4 separate regions of the Homo sapiens genome follow, and all the other regions are linked to region 3. Evidence: promoter capture Hi-C in 16 types of primary human blood cells and fetal thymus (Javierre and others, 2016). All regions are on one chromosome and are shown on one strand. Each heading gives the region's core, a stretch centred on a gene start or on the middle of the fragment in contact. The rest is flanking DNA. Distances are from core to core; before and after follow the strand shown. Region 1 overlaps ARAP2 (ArfGAP with RhoGAP domain, ankyrin repeat and PH domain 2). Region 2 has its middle 25 kb from the start of MIR1255B1. Region 3 holds the start of DTHD1 (death domain containing 1). Region 4 overlaps ARAP2 (ArfGAP with RhoGAP domain, ankyrin repeat and PH domain 2).

What was found. Contacts are between HindIII fragments. The CHiCAGO score rates a contact against its expected background, and 5 or more counts as called.
Region 1: a fragment that was not itself captured here is called in contact with the fragment with the promoter of DTHD1 in region 3 in 7 of 17 cell types (total CD8 T cells, activated CD4 T cells, naive CD8 T cells and 4 more); the score reaches 11.3 in total CD8 T cells.
Region 2: a contact is called between a fragment that was not itself captured here and the fragment with the promoter of DTHD1 in region 3, in 9 of 17 cell types (activated CD4 T cells, naive CD8 T cells, M2 macrophages and 6 more). The highest score is 11.3, in activated CD4 T cells.
Region 4: a fragment that was not itself captured here is called in contact with the fragment with the promoter of DTHD1 in region 3 in 5 of 17 cell types (activated CD4 T cells, non-activated CD4 T cells, naive CD8 T cells and 2 more); the score reaches 8.0 in activated CD4 T cells.

Annotation. Positions count from the first base shown.
Region 1 is chr4:36,209,310-36,213,157 of GRCh38, forward strand. It overlaps ARAP2 (ArfGAP with RhoGAP domain, ankyrin repeat and PH domain 2), which reads right to left. Exons shown (of 33, transcript NM_015230.4): 5 at 3,087-3,178; 6 at 1,081-1,434. Among named protein-coding and RNA genes, the nearest start is that of ARAP2, 33 kb to the right of the region's middle. The HindIII fragment of the contact is 3,759 bases long and covers 359-3,848 here.
Region 2 is chr4:36,399,254-36,403,283 of GRCh38, forward strand. No RefSeq gene overlaps it. Among named protein-coding and RNA genes, the nearest start is that of MIR1255B1, 25 kb to the right of the region's middle. The HindIII fragment of the contact is 2,285 bases long and covers 167-2,451 here.
Region 3 is chr4:36,280,278-36,284,020 of GRCh38, forward strand. It overlaps DTHD1 (death domain containing 1), which reads left to right and starts at 1,339. Exons shown (of 10, transcript NM_001170700.3): 1 at 1,339-1,752; 2 at 3,699-3,743. The coding sequence starts at 1,482. The HindIII fragment of the contact is 1,630 bases long and covers 417-2,046 here.
Region 4 is chr4:36,161,307-36,165,083 of GRCh38, forward strand. It overlaps ARAP2 (ArfGAP with RhoGAP domain, ankyrin repeat and PH domain 2), which reads right to left. Exons shown (of 33, transcript NM_015230.4): 11 at 3,608-3,777; 12 at 159-244. Among named protein-coding and RNA genes, the nearest start is that of ARAP2, 81 kb to the right of the region's middle. The HindIII fragment of the contact is 2,360 bases long and covers 940-3,299 here.

The sequences.
Region 1 (3,848 bases), core at 988-3,487, 70 kb before region 3:
AAGAACAAGCAGAGGGTTTTGTCATCATAATGTAACCAGAAAGAAGTGACACACATAGCTGATAGTAAGAAGTAATCTGCTTTGGTTTATTCAAAATCAAATTTCCTAAAAGAATGAAAATATATAAGGTATTAACATATAATTGCTAACCATACAATTTCGGGGTGTTTTGCTATCTTTTGAAATGTTAATTCCTGCTTCTACTAGTCATCTGATGCTGCTTCTGGTAGTTTTTTTTTCCAATTAAAATTATTTTAGATCAAACCAATCCTTTCTAGAAATGACACACATTTCAAGAGAATAGGAGTGAAAACCAGCACACTGTAGGGACTCACCACATTAGCTACTGATACATGAAAGCTTTAATCTCAAAAGAATTTAATAATCCATGAAAAACATTTCAAGTAAATATTTCAAAAAGACATCTAAAAATTAGGATGCCAGTAAACAATTCTAATTAAATATAATCCTTCCCTAAAGATTTCTCAGTACTGTAAAATGCTTAAGGGACAAAAGTTTCTTTGTAAACATTTGTTGATAAATCCAAAGAAAAGTATAATATTCACGGGACTCTGACCTTCTGTGTAACATACAAAAATCAAAATAAGATATCAATAATAGTGAAGACCTAAACCTAACAAAGATGTACTTTTCCCTAACAACAATAAGCCTTGTATTCTCAAACAGAACACTGTTATGATATGAGCAAAAGCCAAACAGTGTGGGCTGAGTAATACTAACTCAGTCTGTCTTGTTTTTCTTTGTTACATACTGGGACACAGATTAGCACATTTTGATGCGAACTTAGAAGGTAACATTAAGAAATTAGATGTGAGGTCATAACTTTCTATTTTAATTTGCGACTCTGGACCTTAATGCAGCATTGCATTGCACATCTCTCTCCTTATGTCTAAAGAATAGCACTGGCAAAAGTGTGCTGAAAGTCCCTAAAAATGGCATCTCTGTGTATGTGTGTGTGTGGCGGTGGAGTGGGGGAACAGCAACCCTGGAGGTTTAGAAATGAATAAACTTGAAATTTTAAAAATATGCCACTTATGAAATAAATGCATACGTACATACCCTTGAGGAGAGAGTTTATCCAGCCATCCTGATTTAACCTTCTTTGCAGATGCTCCATAAAAGCAGGCATAGGGAGATATTGCCTGTGAAGAAACGGCTGATGAATCAGCATTTCCACTTGTTGAGCTTAACGGATAACTGTGCCTATTAACGGAGTCCAAAATCAAGGCTTTTTGAGTCCTAGATTTAGATGCCTTTGAATTTTTTCTTCTTAAACTCTGAAAGCATTCTTCTACTGTTGAGTATTCTGATTCAGAAGCAGTGTCTATCAAAAAATTGTTTTTGTCCTCTCGAGGTATCCAAATATCTTCCACCTTGTCCTCGCTTATTTTCTCCTTTCTGTTATCGTATATGCTAAACGGAAAAATGATGTAAACATTTCAAAGTGCTATATGTGATTTAAGACATCAGTGACATTTTGAAAATTTATAAATAACTAATAACAGAAACATAAGGCCAGGAAAATCCTAGAGTTTCCATTAACCCTATTGAAAATTTTTTAAACTCTTCCAGAAAAGCTAAGTAAAATTATTTCATTAACCTATGACATCTGAATACTACTACAAGTTTTTTCTTAGGTATAATTTAATCTTATCCCTTTTATTTTGGAAGGTTAGGGGCAGGTGCTAAGAATGCAGACTGGGTATATTCTTCACATCACAATTTAAACATCTTTAATAGCACAATTAAGTGGCCAGCCCAATCCCTCTGGGCAACATGACGGACCATTAACTCATCTATATGGAGATCTTATTTCCAATTTGCTTACCCCTCTCTACTATCCTCTAATCAACTCCAAGGACCCCATGTTTCACCACAATGCAATAAAACAGAGAGTATGCCTGACTGCTGAGAGCATCAGTATTATTTTGCAATGCTGATGAGGAAAAATATTGCAGCACACTGCTAGCTAGAAAGCAAGAAAGGGTCAGTGTACATTCAGGAAGTAAAAGCTATGTAATGCACAATATTTATTGGAATGCATTCATAATAGCTAAGCATATTTCTACAGATTCAAGGGATGACATAATAGATCAACTCATTCATTAATGCCAAAGGACATTTTTTGCTAATCAATGAAACAGATATGCCTGGGCTCAAATTACATCTTTCTGGATATAGCATTCTAAAAACCATTACTGCCTCAAAGAATAATTTAGCCTGGCCCTTTCATATTTTGCATTATATTAGATTATGTCAAATGTTTACTAAAGATGTTTAATTGTTTAGCTTTAACTGAGGGAAACCTATAACAATGTTAGCCTTAGAAAATGAAAGACAAAAATAAAATGAATGTCCCACTAAAAAGTATAATTAAACTGTTGGCAATACAAAAGAGGAATGCTTTGGGGGATGAATATTCCGTTTTCCATGATGTGATTATATTATGCTTATATCAAAATATGTTATGTACCCCAGAAATATATACATCTACTATGTAATCTCAAAAATTAAAAATTAAGAAAAAGAAAATGAAGTATCAGGTAATGTGCCAGTATGCCAAGTTCCAATAAAGCTGAGAGAAAACCAAAATTGAAGTTGGTGCATACAAATTCTAACTCTGTATGTGATCCAAATAACTGGATAATTGTCATGCTTCTTGCCAGTGCTGAAACTCCAATAAAAAGAATATATTATACTTGTAAAAGTCTGCAACTTGCATAGTGATGTTCTGCACTGCCCTTTTCTCCTTTTTATTAACATAACCTCTCATCTTTAATGTGCAATCATAGTCACCTGTATTTGCTACTGTGGGGAAGGGGTGTGGTTTCCATTAGAAAAAGACAAAAATAATCTGCCACAGAATGCAACTATTTACTTGATCTACAGAGCATAATTCAATTAATAAAATGGGTGCTGCTATGCTTACATTTAGAGAGGAAAAAATTGAACTTATCACCATAAACTATTTTCTCTGACACACAATATTATACTAAGAATGAGAAGTCAACATTGTATAACAGTTTATTCTAAATAGTTAATCATCATCAATCATGATCTCATACCTTGATTTGATGATAAAAGAGTTTGTTGCAGTAGCTGCTTCCCCTTTGAGTGCTTCTCCCTGGGTCAAAAATTCATTCTTTATAGATCGCTTCTATTAAAAAAGCAAACAAACAAAAAACACATACTGTTTTGCTTTTTGGTTTGGGGATTTGTTTGTATGTGTAGCAATATTCTACAAAAATCCATAATATCTGAGTTTAGTTTTATTAAATAAGTCTAATTACTTAGATCAATTTTCAGAAAAAAAAGTTAGTCTACATTAAACAGACTTTTGATTTTTTTTTCACTATTTTATTCAAATCGTTAACTCATCAATTCAAGTAAGAATAAAAGAAAATGGTAACCAAAAATAAAATTTATGTACTTTTACTCCTTGATTCATTTTTGTCTTCCAACTTCTCTTTTATCAAGACCAAGAAATAAAGTAGCAAAAGAGCACAAGTAATAGAAAAGAATGAGTGATAAACTAAATAATTAAAATATATACATAATTGGAAATCTATGCACTTCAGAAGTCTGCACTTGGCTACAAGGCAAAGCAAAAATCTAGAGAGTGCTTAAGTTTTATACAGTTTGTCTTTTGTTTAATTAACCCAATCTTGTGGCAAATTTTTAAAACTCACTATCCTGGATTCCTGAAGTCATAATAAACATGTGTTCCTATAATGTATATTGAAAGAGACAGATTTTACCATAATTTTACTGAACAAAAATTTTGCTGACTGGAAATTTCAATCTTCAATATAATGCCATTCTTCAAA
Region 2 (4,030 bases), core at 59-2,558, 120 kb after region 3:
TGTGACTAGACAGTTCTTCCCTCATTCTGGCATCATGCCATATTTTATTAGAATCTTTCTAGTTACTTCTCTCTAGAACATCCTCATAGAAATTCTTCCCCAAGTTATTTCTGCTCATCCTTCGTCTTGGTGGTGGTGGTGGAGTTACGTTCTCTTTCCTCAAAAAAGCTTTCCCTAAACTCTAAAAAACAATTGGCTTACCCTCTTGTACAAGTCACCTTGTAATTTATTTACGTTTTTATCACTGGCCACAAATGGACATTTTAAAATTAATTTTTGTGTTCTCTACTATATTGTAACTTCCATGAAAGCTAAGGCCACCTTGTCATGTCTATCGAATACTCAATCCAAATATAGCACATAGTAGGCTTTCAGTAAGTATTTATTGACTGAGTGACCAAAGGAGAACTCAAAACTAACCCAGTTTCCCACACTGGAAACAAAATCTAGGCAAGTTTAGATTCTTAAGACTGACAGAATTTAGGCTGTTTCCAACCATCAGTTTTGAGTGAAATGTAAACAAGATCAAACAGAGAAACCTTGTCACTTTTATTTATTGCTGTATTTCCCAAGACCTAGAACATTTCTTGGCACAAGCTATATGTTCAATAAATACTTTTTTGACTTAGTCAAGGAACCTTAAATACAAAGTTTTAAAATGTCTTAGCATTAGAGAAGCAGCTGCTGAGCCAGTGATGCCCTCTGGTGACAAAAGTCATCATCGCAGTACTTTTCTTAATTCAGGCAATTGGACTTTGAGCTTCTCTTTTATGTCTAGCATTTCATAGGAAAATATAAGTGGGGGCTGTCCCAAAGAGATACACTCAAGAAACCCTAGTGCAGTCTTAGCAGTATATCAATAATAACTTCTATATATATGTGACTTTACAGTTTTCTAAAGTCTTGGGGTATAAAGATTAGTAATAAGTAAACCTTATTCCTAACAGAAAAATACAACACAGAGAAATATGCACTAATGTAGACATCTACATACAATGTGGAAAAATCAACGGAAAGAAAGAAATCAAAGTATTTCCACATAATAGATGGCTGGGAAGGAAGACCAGGAAAAATTTTATAGAAGAGGTAATGTTTCTTAGGGTTTTAAGGGAAGAGGAGATGTTTTCCATTTAGACCAGAGACTGGGAGGACATTCTGAGCAGAGGGAAGAGGTTGAACAAGAGCAGTAAGAGTAATTCATTATTATTTTCTAATAAAATTATTTTACTTTGTATGTGGTGCAAGTATTTTATAATAAGAAAATATTCCTAATTCCTCCCTCCCATCCCTTGTATCATTGATGTCATTTATTTCACTAATGCGTAAGCTATAATCATCAAATACATTGTTGCTATTATTATTTTAAACAAATTGTTATCTGTTAGATCAATTGAGAATAAGAAAACTGAAAATTCTGTTATCTTCCCTTATTCCTTCTTTAATCCTCTTCCGTTTTTCATGCAGATCTGAGTTCCTGAGCTGTGTCACGTTTTTTCTCTCTAAATAACTTCTTGTAAGACTGATCTACTGTTAACAAATTCCCTCAGTTTTGTTTGTCTGAGAAAGACTTCATTTCTCCTTGACTTTCAAGGATAACTTTGCAGGGTAGTGGATTCTAGGTTGATGTATCTTTTCTTTCAGCACTTTAAATATTTCCCTCCACTCTCTTCTTGGTTGCATGATTTTTGAGATGTCAGATGTAATTTTTATCTTGCTCCTCTATAGGCAAGTTGTTTTTTTTTTCCTCTGACTCATTTCAAGATTTTTCTTGACCTTTTATTTTCAGGCTAGGTGCAAATTATTGGATATTTATCCTGCTTGGTTTTCTCTGTGCTTCCTGGATCTGTGGTTTGGTGTCTGACATTAATTTGAGGGAAATTATCAGTTGTTATTACTTCAAATGTTTCTTCTGTTCATGACTCTTCTTTCTAGCATTCTCATTACACATATGCTACATCTTTTGTCATTGCCTCATAGTTATTCGATATTCTGTTCCATTTATTCAGTAATTTTTCTCTTCACATTTTGGTTTTATAATTTTCTATTAACACATTCTCATGCTCAGAGATTCTTTCCTCAGCCACGTCCAGTCTCCTAATGAACCCATCAAATAATTCTTCCTTCTGTTAAAGTGTTCTTGATCTCTAGCATTTCCTTTTGATTCTTTCTTAGCATTTCCATCTCTTTGTTTACCTGACCTATCTTTTCTTACATGTTGTGTACTTTGTCCATTAGACACCTTAGCACATTAATCATTATCATTTTAAATTCCCAGTGTGATGATTCCAATATCGCAGCCATGTCTGAGAGTGGTTCTGATGACTTCCTTGTCTACACTGTGTTTTTTGCCTTTTAGTATGCCTTGTAATTATTATTTTTTTTTTAGCATTAGGGCATTTTTACTTTCCTTTTCTTCACCTTTTTATTTTAGGTTTGCAGGGTACATGTGCAAGCTTGTTACATGGGTAAGCTGTGTGTCACTGAGGTTTGGTATACAAATGATTTTATCACTCATGTTGTAAGCATAGCACTTGGTAGGTAGTTTTTTGTCCCTCATTCTTCTCCTACCCTCCACACTCAAGTAGTCCCTGATGTTTATTGTTCTCTGTGTACTCAATGTTTAGCTCTCACTTATAAGAGGGAACAGGTGGTATTTGGTTTTCTATTCTTGCAGTAATTTGCTTGGGATAATGGCCTCTAGCTGCATCCATGTTGCTGCAAAGGACATGATTTCATGCTTTTTTATGAGTATGCCTTATAATTTCTTGTGATGTAGTGGGTAAAAGGAACTCTAGTAAATAGGCCTTTAGTGATGTGCCGGTAAGGTGTTGGGGGTTAGCTAGTATTCTAGAGTCCTGTGATTATGTCTCAGTCTTTTAGTGAGCTTGTGTCCCTAGACTGTGAACTTCACAGGTGTCTCTCAGTTTTATCGACCAGTATGGGATGGCTACAGGGTGATGGAGTCAAGTGTTTTTCATCCCCCATATGAAAAACTAGAGAGGGTTAGGGTTGGGGTTTTCCCTTTCCCAAGTATGTTAGGCTCCTATAAAACCCCTTCAGATCAGGATCTGATAAAATAGTTTCTCTAGGGGGCAGGCTTTGTAAAAAACAGAATCCTTTCCCCGTTGGAAGCTGGAGACTTCTCTCTAATGTTTACTGGGCGAATCTACTTCATCTCCTGTAGGTAAAGCCAGAAAAGTGTGGGGGTATCTGATATGGTTTGGCTGTGCCCTCACCCAAATCTCATCTCGAATTCCCACGTGTTGTGGGCGAGACCCAGTGGGAGGTAATTGAATCATAGGGGCAGGTGTTTCCCATGCTGTTCTCATGATAGCGAATAAGTTTCACAAGATCTGATGGTTTTAAAAAAGGGGAGTTCCCCTGCACAAGCTCTGTTCCCTTGTCTGCCACCATGTGAGATGTGCCTTTCACCTTCTGCCATGATTGTGAGGCCTCTCCAGACACGTGGAACTGTGAGTCCAATAAACCTCTTCTTTTTTGTAAATTACCCAGTCTTGGGTATGTCTTTATCAGCAGTGTGAAAATGGCCTAATACTTTCCCCTACGATGGGACCCTGCTGGAGTATTTACTCCCAGTCTTGCCCATTCTTAGCTTCCCATTAGTCAATTACATTTTAAGTTTTCCTACTTTAGTACTGGTTCCCACTCAGGTTTCTGCTCCAGTAGCTTGTGAGTCTCTGTATTTGCCTTTCTGTCTGTCTTATTTTGGGGACAGTGATTTTCCCTGTGACCTCACTTCTCATATGGATTTAAGAAGAATGGATGATTTTTCAGATTTTTCAGCTTTTTTACTTGTTGTTATGACAGAGTGGTGACCTCTAAGTTCTTTACATGCCAGACTAACAACTAAAAGTTGTAATTCATTATTATTTAGTAAAACACATAACGTCTTAGTTCATCAGCAACCTAAAATCCACAAGCTCATTATTCCTTCCAGAAACAGAACAACCCACTACAGCTAGTCATTTCTAATATCCATTATGTTAATCGACCAAAATTCTGGTGTTGA
Region 3 (3,743 bases), core at 89-2,588:
GTACATTATTATTGAGAATGACACATCCATTTAAGGAGTAAGAAAAGAAAATAGAATTGAATGAGTGAGTCTTTAGTTTGAGAAGATTTAAATGATCCAATCCATGAAGTGATATGAACTCATACTGCGAAAAAGGTCCCCTTTTCAGTGAACAGAAGTTAACTGAAAAATAAGACACTTAGTGGTGAAGGAGCCCCTCTCCACTCTGCAGCCACCAGTACTCAATACTGCTCCTTTCCTTCAGGGTCTTTGACAGTCTTTAGGGCAGTGGCAGTCATTCTTCATTATTTATTCTCTGGGCTTGTTTTTCCCATCTTGTCTTCCAGGTGCCCTGAGTGTAGCTCTTAGAACTCCAGGGCTTAAGATGAGATAATGTGTTGCCTGTGGGAGGGAAGCACTCCGGCTTCCACTTGAAAAGCTTTCATTTTGTTCCAGTACCCGAGGGAACATGAGCCTCTCTGGAATGTACTTGCTGCCCTCTTCCTTTGGCTTAGGTGTGTGTTCTCTCTGAGCAGTGGGATTGGAGAGAGGGAGGCAGACTGTTCTGGTTTCCTCCAAATACCCGCAAGTGCTGCATTGCATAGCCCCATATATGATGCGCTGGCAGGCAGATGGGCAGCAGTGGGGAGAGCTTGTTGTATCTGAATTTTAATTACATATGGTAAAGAATCCTTGCTAGTTTAGAGAAAGCTACTCTTCAGGTTTACTTTCTTTCAGTGAAGGGGCATTTTATCCAATTAGAGGGAAATTATCAGAGGCCAAGTTCTTATCTCAGTCTCTGCAGATTTACCACATAAGAAGATGCTAATTATAACTTCCTAACCAATGCAATAGGCTCTGCTCCAGTAGAGGAATCTTTTTAAACTCTTGGTTATAAAAATACTATACATATACACATTAATTAGAGTGAATTGTCAAGACCCCATGTGTAAACATATCCAGCTTCAACATTTATTAATTCTTACAGCAAATTTTATACCTCTACCCACCCCTATGCTCCCTGATTATTTAGAAGCAAAATCAGACATCACATTATTTCATTCATAAATATTTTTAAGTTTACAGGAATCCTGCCAGCAATATTGTTCATACAGTTTACCTTTGATTAATAAACTTCTTACCCTACCTGGAATCTGTATTTTGTTGCCTCAAAACTTGAAAAGTATTTGGTACTTCCACAGTATATTGAATTTGTAAAACTTACACAGAGAGTTGGATCATGTGAGTCAGCTCTACCCCAGTGATTAATGTATTCTGTACACAGTAGCACCCATGGTACAGGAACGCCCCTTCTTCGGTCACCTAGTAACTTTTCACTAGTCAACACCAAACTGAATAACCACTATGTTGTGAGAAAGTGCTGGGCTAGCTGACTCGGATCATCTCCTAGAGTTTAGGAGAAATAACAATCACAAAGTTTGAATTTGCAAAACCTTTAGGCTTTGCTGGCAGGAGAGAAAATACCACTTTTGGATCATAAAATGGATATGGAATACATGGGCTCAGGTAAACTGGGCCAAATATTGAAGCAGATTTGGAGACAAAACCAGATGCTAAAGCAGGCACTCTTGGGTGATGACCTTTGTGAGGGGGCTGGTGGGGCCACTTGGATGGCCACTGTGGTCTTTCTGGGTCAGGAACTCAGCAGTGCCCTTCACCAGCTGCTGGAGCACACCTCAGGCACCCTGCGTTCCACCTGCCAGCAGCTGCATGTGCTGCTTGACAAAGAGAATCAATGTGTCTCGAGAAAAGGCAAGTATTCTTTTTTTTAGTTTATTCTTTCTCTAAGAAATATTGATTAGGGCAAGATCTGAGAGGGGCTATGAGTATACCAGATAGGCTAAGATAGAGTTTCTGTCCACAAGAGACTAACAATTTCAAAGGGGAAATAAGTTGAGACAAATGCACAATAATGCCAGGGACATTGGGGCCAGTCCCATTAGAAACACATGAATGAAGTGCTTTTGGACTTCAGAAGCAGTTTAAATCCCATCTGTAGGGTGGGGAATTGAGAAGTTTGCTAGAAAAATGTAGTATTTAAGCTGAAGCTTAAAGAGTGAATTGGATTTATGCAGCAGGAAAGAGAGAGTCGGTAATTTTAGTAGGATCCAAGACTTAGAGACAGGAAAATACAGGCCACTGAGGCAGAGCTAGTAGTTTGTTTTTTATATCAGAATATAGTATTCTATCTCTAGGGTCATTTGAGCTTAGCCTTATTGATTGCAAAATTACTGGGAAGACTGGAGTGGGTTGGGATAGGGAATTGGATCCCCATGCACTGGGGCTGGAGAGGGATTCTTGGGAATAGGTCCAGTTATGGATGTGGAAAAGTACAGTAAGGCAGGAAGAATGTGGAATCTGATGAATATAATCCTAGATAACAACAGTTACTCCAGATAAGCATATAGGTGGCATCATGAAATTCAACTCTAAATAATACAGTATCAAGATAAGTGGGCAGGTTCCATCTATGAGGAAATCCAGGGTAGATGATGTTAAGAAATTCAATCTAAAGGGCAAATAGTGGGCATCAGGGAAATCTGTCTAAAGGCAGCATGACTGAGAAGCCATCAGCTGCAGCCCACAATGAGACCTTTAGCCTCTGGAGGGAGTGGAACATGGTCTTTGGCAATATAACAAGCAAATATATATTCAGAAAAAAACAAGGACTTGGTTACCAGAATAGGAGTTAAAAATAAAGACAAGTTCTCAGGTATAAGACAAAAACAAAACAAAACAAAACACAAGTTGTCAGAACTGGATCCCAAAGAAAAGCCCTGACTGGTGAAGGGATGATTTGGTGATGGCTTTAAAAACACTAAGCTATGGGGCCTTAAATTACCTATTCTTTAGTTCAGAACTGAATTCTAAAGACTAGAGAGGTACTAAGCCTGCAAGAAGTCATCAGGTGACCTCAGTAGTGAGGAGAAGCAGGATGAACAAATAGGAGAGTGGGAAGAATGATGACGGAGTGAGAGATTATATAAGATTTGATCATGCTAAGAGTTTACTTCAGAGTGAAGAAGGTTGACCTGAGTTAGTAGGCTTTGAGTAGCCACTTCAGGTTCCAATCAGAGAATTGGTATGGTCAGAGCTATTCTCTGAAGGACTAATTTGAAAATTTCCAATGCTCACAAATTCATCAGGAGGAATAGTATAAACCTAATCCAATTCTTATAGCAGTAAACTAGGCTCCAAAACAAAGCATCTACATTGGCAGAAATAATGGAGGTATGGTGTTTCTGCCACCCAAGCCTCATCTGGAGTGTTCGCCTAATTTTCAGCCCAGCATTTTAAATGGATCATTGATAAACTATTGTACATCCAGTGGTAAAAGAAGAGTTCTCAAAATCATACCAAATGAAAAACAATTGAGGGAGATGTTGACTTCAGTTCTTATTGGGGGAGCAAGAGGTTATGACATTTGTCTTTAAATATTCGAAGTATCTTTATAAGCAAGAGGGATTAGATTTACTCTTTGCTACCATGTTAAAAATGGTTTGTTGTCAATCCTACAATTGTTAAAAGAGTGACAGTTATACAATTACTTCTCCTTCAGGAGTTTGGCTTAAATGCACAGTAAAGGTCTTTGTAGGTTTCTAAAATTATCTTGCCATGTTTCATTAGATGTCAGTGCAGAAACATAATTTGGTTTAGTTTTGTATTTATTCTTTGTGTGTCCATGTATGTGTGTGTAGAAATCATTACTTTCATAGACTGCCTCATAAAAATAACTGAACATT
Region 4 (3,777 bases), core at 870-3,369, 120 kb before region 3:
ACTATCAAAAAGGCTATAAGCCACTTCCATAATGTGGTGAGAACTTTATCAAACAGCCCCGAGAAAAATTCCTGCCACCCAAACCCACAGCAAACCTCCTCCCAGTCTCTGCAAACTGAACCCCTATCACAACCCCATTCAGGTTAAATAGGACTCACCTCGATGAGTTCATTGCTCCAAATGCTAGCATCCATTTTTAGACTTCTAACCTTGGAATCTTTTGGTCCTAAAGATCTATGCTGTCCTAGAGTCAAAACACAATTGCATTTCTATTTTAATTTGTATGTAAATTTATTTTACCTTGTTTTGAAAGAAAGTGCATATGTCTGTGTATGTTCGTTGCGTATCTTCTCAACTTAAAACACACCAATACCTGCTTTCCTCAATAACAAGATGACAAGAGCACTAACAGTAGTGGTGAGAATTAGACAAATCGCAGCTGGCTACAATAAAAACAGCAGCAATCATCATCAGCATCTGCACTGACAAAAAAAAAAAAAAAAAAAAAAAAAAACTACACGGCCTGGCGCGGTGGCTCACGCCTGTAATCCCAGCACTTTGGAAGGCCGAGGCGGGCGGATCACGAGGTCAGGAGATCGAGAACATCCTGGCTAACAGGGTGAAACCCCGTCTCTACTAAAAATACAAAAAATTAGCCGGGCGAGGTGGCAGGCACCTGTAGTCCCAGCTACTCGGGAGGCTGAGGCAGGAGAATGGCGTGAACCCGGGAGGCGGAGCTTGCAGTGAGCCCAGATCTTGCCACTGCACTCCAGCCTGGGCGACAGAGCGAGACTCCGTCTCAAAAAAAAAAAAAAAGAACTACACTTACTTAAATATATATATATATATATGTGCATGAGTGCATATGTACAGACACATGTATAAATATTTCCTCATTTGGTAATCAGCTAGAAATAGGCCACTGAAAACCTTTTGTAAAGCTTGCTAAAACCCCACGTATGTAAATGCAGATAATATTTCTTTACTGTTACAAAAACTTGACTATTGAAAAACTAGTTACATGTCTAATAAGTGTGTACTTAAAAATCTGACATGAATACTTTATTCAGCAAATATGTCTGGAAGAAAGTAAGAGCCCAGAATTTTATTACTGTCAATTCAATTGTGCTGTATAAATCATCATTCAGTCATCACTGAGCAACCAGGCTATGTCAGATTATTTCAAAGCTGAGAAGGAAAAAAAGTGTACAGTCCACTATCCTTGATCTTAAGGGCCCTTTGTCTAATGAACAACGAATGTTCATTCCTTTCCCTACAATAGGTAAGAAGTTCTTGTCTTTTTTTTTTTTTTTAAGTAGAAACTATTCAAAGCACAAAGCCCTAAATTCCCCTGGAAGAAATCTGCATAGGTTTGCATTTATAATGACTACCTACAGGCAATACAGTACCCAGCAGGTAAAAACTTAAAAGCCTGTAGGAAGAGATGAAAGGGACTGCTGCAGTAACCTAGGCATGACAGATTCTGAGTTGAGGCAGCAGGAAAATAAAATGGAGCAGACAGATTGAGAGAGATTGATAAGATAAAATGAATGAGACTTGGTGGGTTTGAAGGAAAGAGGAAGAGTCAAGAAGGTGTCTCAGATTTTAGGCTTTGAGTGTGCAGCGTAGACAGTATTGCTTTTGACCAAGATTGAGAATATATGAAAATGTGCAGTTTTATGAAATGGGCTGAGGGGAACAACGATGGCTCCATTTTTGACATGTTACATTTGAGGTGTATTTGGCAAATCTAAGTAGAGATTCTAGTAGGCATATAATCATAAGAGTTTGGTGTCCAACAGCGTGAGAATCATTTGCTTAAAAATGAGTGTGGAATTAAAGTGATAAATAATATCACTCAGGAGCAACACAGTAAAAGAGAAGTGAGAATGTAACCCAAGGGAACACATGTATTTCACAAGCATGGAAATACATGGGAAAAAAAATACTGGAAAAAAAAAGACTGGTAATAAGAACACAAAGAGAGACTGGTATCTTGGAAGCTGAGAGAGGATGGATGTCATAGAGAGACATGTTGTCGAGACACTCAAATAAAGAGACAATAATAAAGATAGTAAGTGACCACACCGAAACTGAGAGGTAAAATACGTTGGTAAATGTGGTGAAAAGATTTTTACCACAGTTGAGAGAAAAGGTAGCTCATCAGCAGTTAAAAGGTAGCTGATTACAGAATGCTGAAGAAAACTTAGGAAGTTAAAGGAATGAAAAAAAACCTATGCACACTACAACTTTTCATAATATCTTGTCTATGAAAGAAAAAGGGGACAGAGAATGACACATAGAAGGAAATGGATAACTTTTAGAAATCCTGATGGTGGTAATGAGACAAACTTGTGCAAGTTTATACAATGAAACAAAAGAAACCATGGCTAAATACTTACATAAGAGAGTGAATAAATGACGAACATGTATCCTAAGGAGGGAAGAAAGAAAGGAAGCAAAGGTAGAAAAAAACAGCTGTGAACAGCACAAAGGCCGTCTCTTCCAATGAAACTGGAGAGAAGAAAAGGATGGGATAAAATTCAAAGTAGAAGGTGATTCACTGGCATTTTTTGTTGTGATTGATATTATTAATTAGCTGGTGAGGAAATCTATCTTAGTTTGATGAGAAATGCAGTTGAATAGTGCTCTAGAAAAGCGTTCAGGATTTGAAGCAACTCCTGTGACTGCACTACTCACTGCGCTCTAGCTGAGGTAGGAACTCCTCTCCAGCATTCTCACTGAAGCCTGTATTCAACTCTAGTCCAACATTTGTCTCATTATTGTGGAGGAAATGTCATGTCTTATACATGTTTTTAATTCCCCGCACCAGCACAGTGCCTAGTACTTGAGTTGAATTCTCTCTCTCTGTCTCTCTCATCTGTGTTTGTGTGTGTATGTGTGTGTGTACATACAGTGGGGGAGAAGGTGGTGGGACACAGGCAGTCCAGGATAACTGAAGTTTAGACTGTGGTTAACTTTCTTCAAAACTTCCATGATCACACACCTAAGCTGGGGTCCACTTCCTTCCACTCACTTGGGCAACTGTCTGAGCTCTCAAATACACTGAGATGTCAGGTTGTCCAGTGTGAGGTCACAAGAAGAAAACCAGTCATAGTACTGGTTTATATTCATAAACATCAATAGTCTTGTGAAATGCTTCTTTATAAAAATTCTTATTTTAAGAGGTACCAGATCTGGCATATGAAGTTTAGTGCTCAAAACAACACTGAGGTGAAAAATATGTCTTACCAAAAATGACTGGGGAAAGGTGGACAAATCTTCAAGTTAAAGATGCAAGCTTCTTCAGGATCCATACTAAAACATACTCACCTAAAATCTAGAATTTTCAACACTGTCTTTTTAAAATCTATACATGGACCAGTAGGCATAAAATATGATTGCATGCTTAAAAATCCATTTTTATATCCAAGTCATACATAAGAGAAGTTTAGACTCATATTTCTGAATTTGATTTAAATGTAATAAGCTTTCTCTGGTTTTACTTCTCATAACCATTAGCTAGGATATATAATATGCAACAATGAAGAGCATTCAATGCCAATCTGCCACAAAGCTGTGATGAGCATAACTTGTCACTAATTACCTGCACACTTCTTACAGATGACAACACAGAGATTGATGGATGCCCAGTCAGGATCTGGGGCTTTACAATCTGCACAGCTCCTGTTGGATTCATTGAACCAAATCTTCTCAGCTACTTCATAATCAGAGAGAGTTTCTGCTATTGATTGCTGCACAGCTTCAATCCAGTCT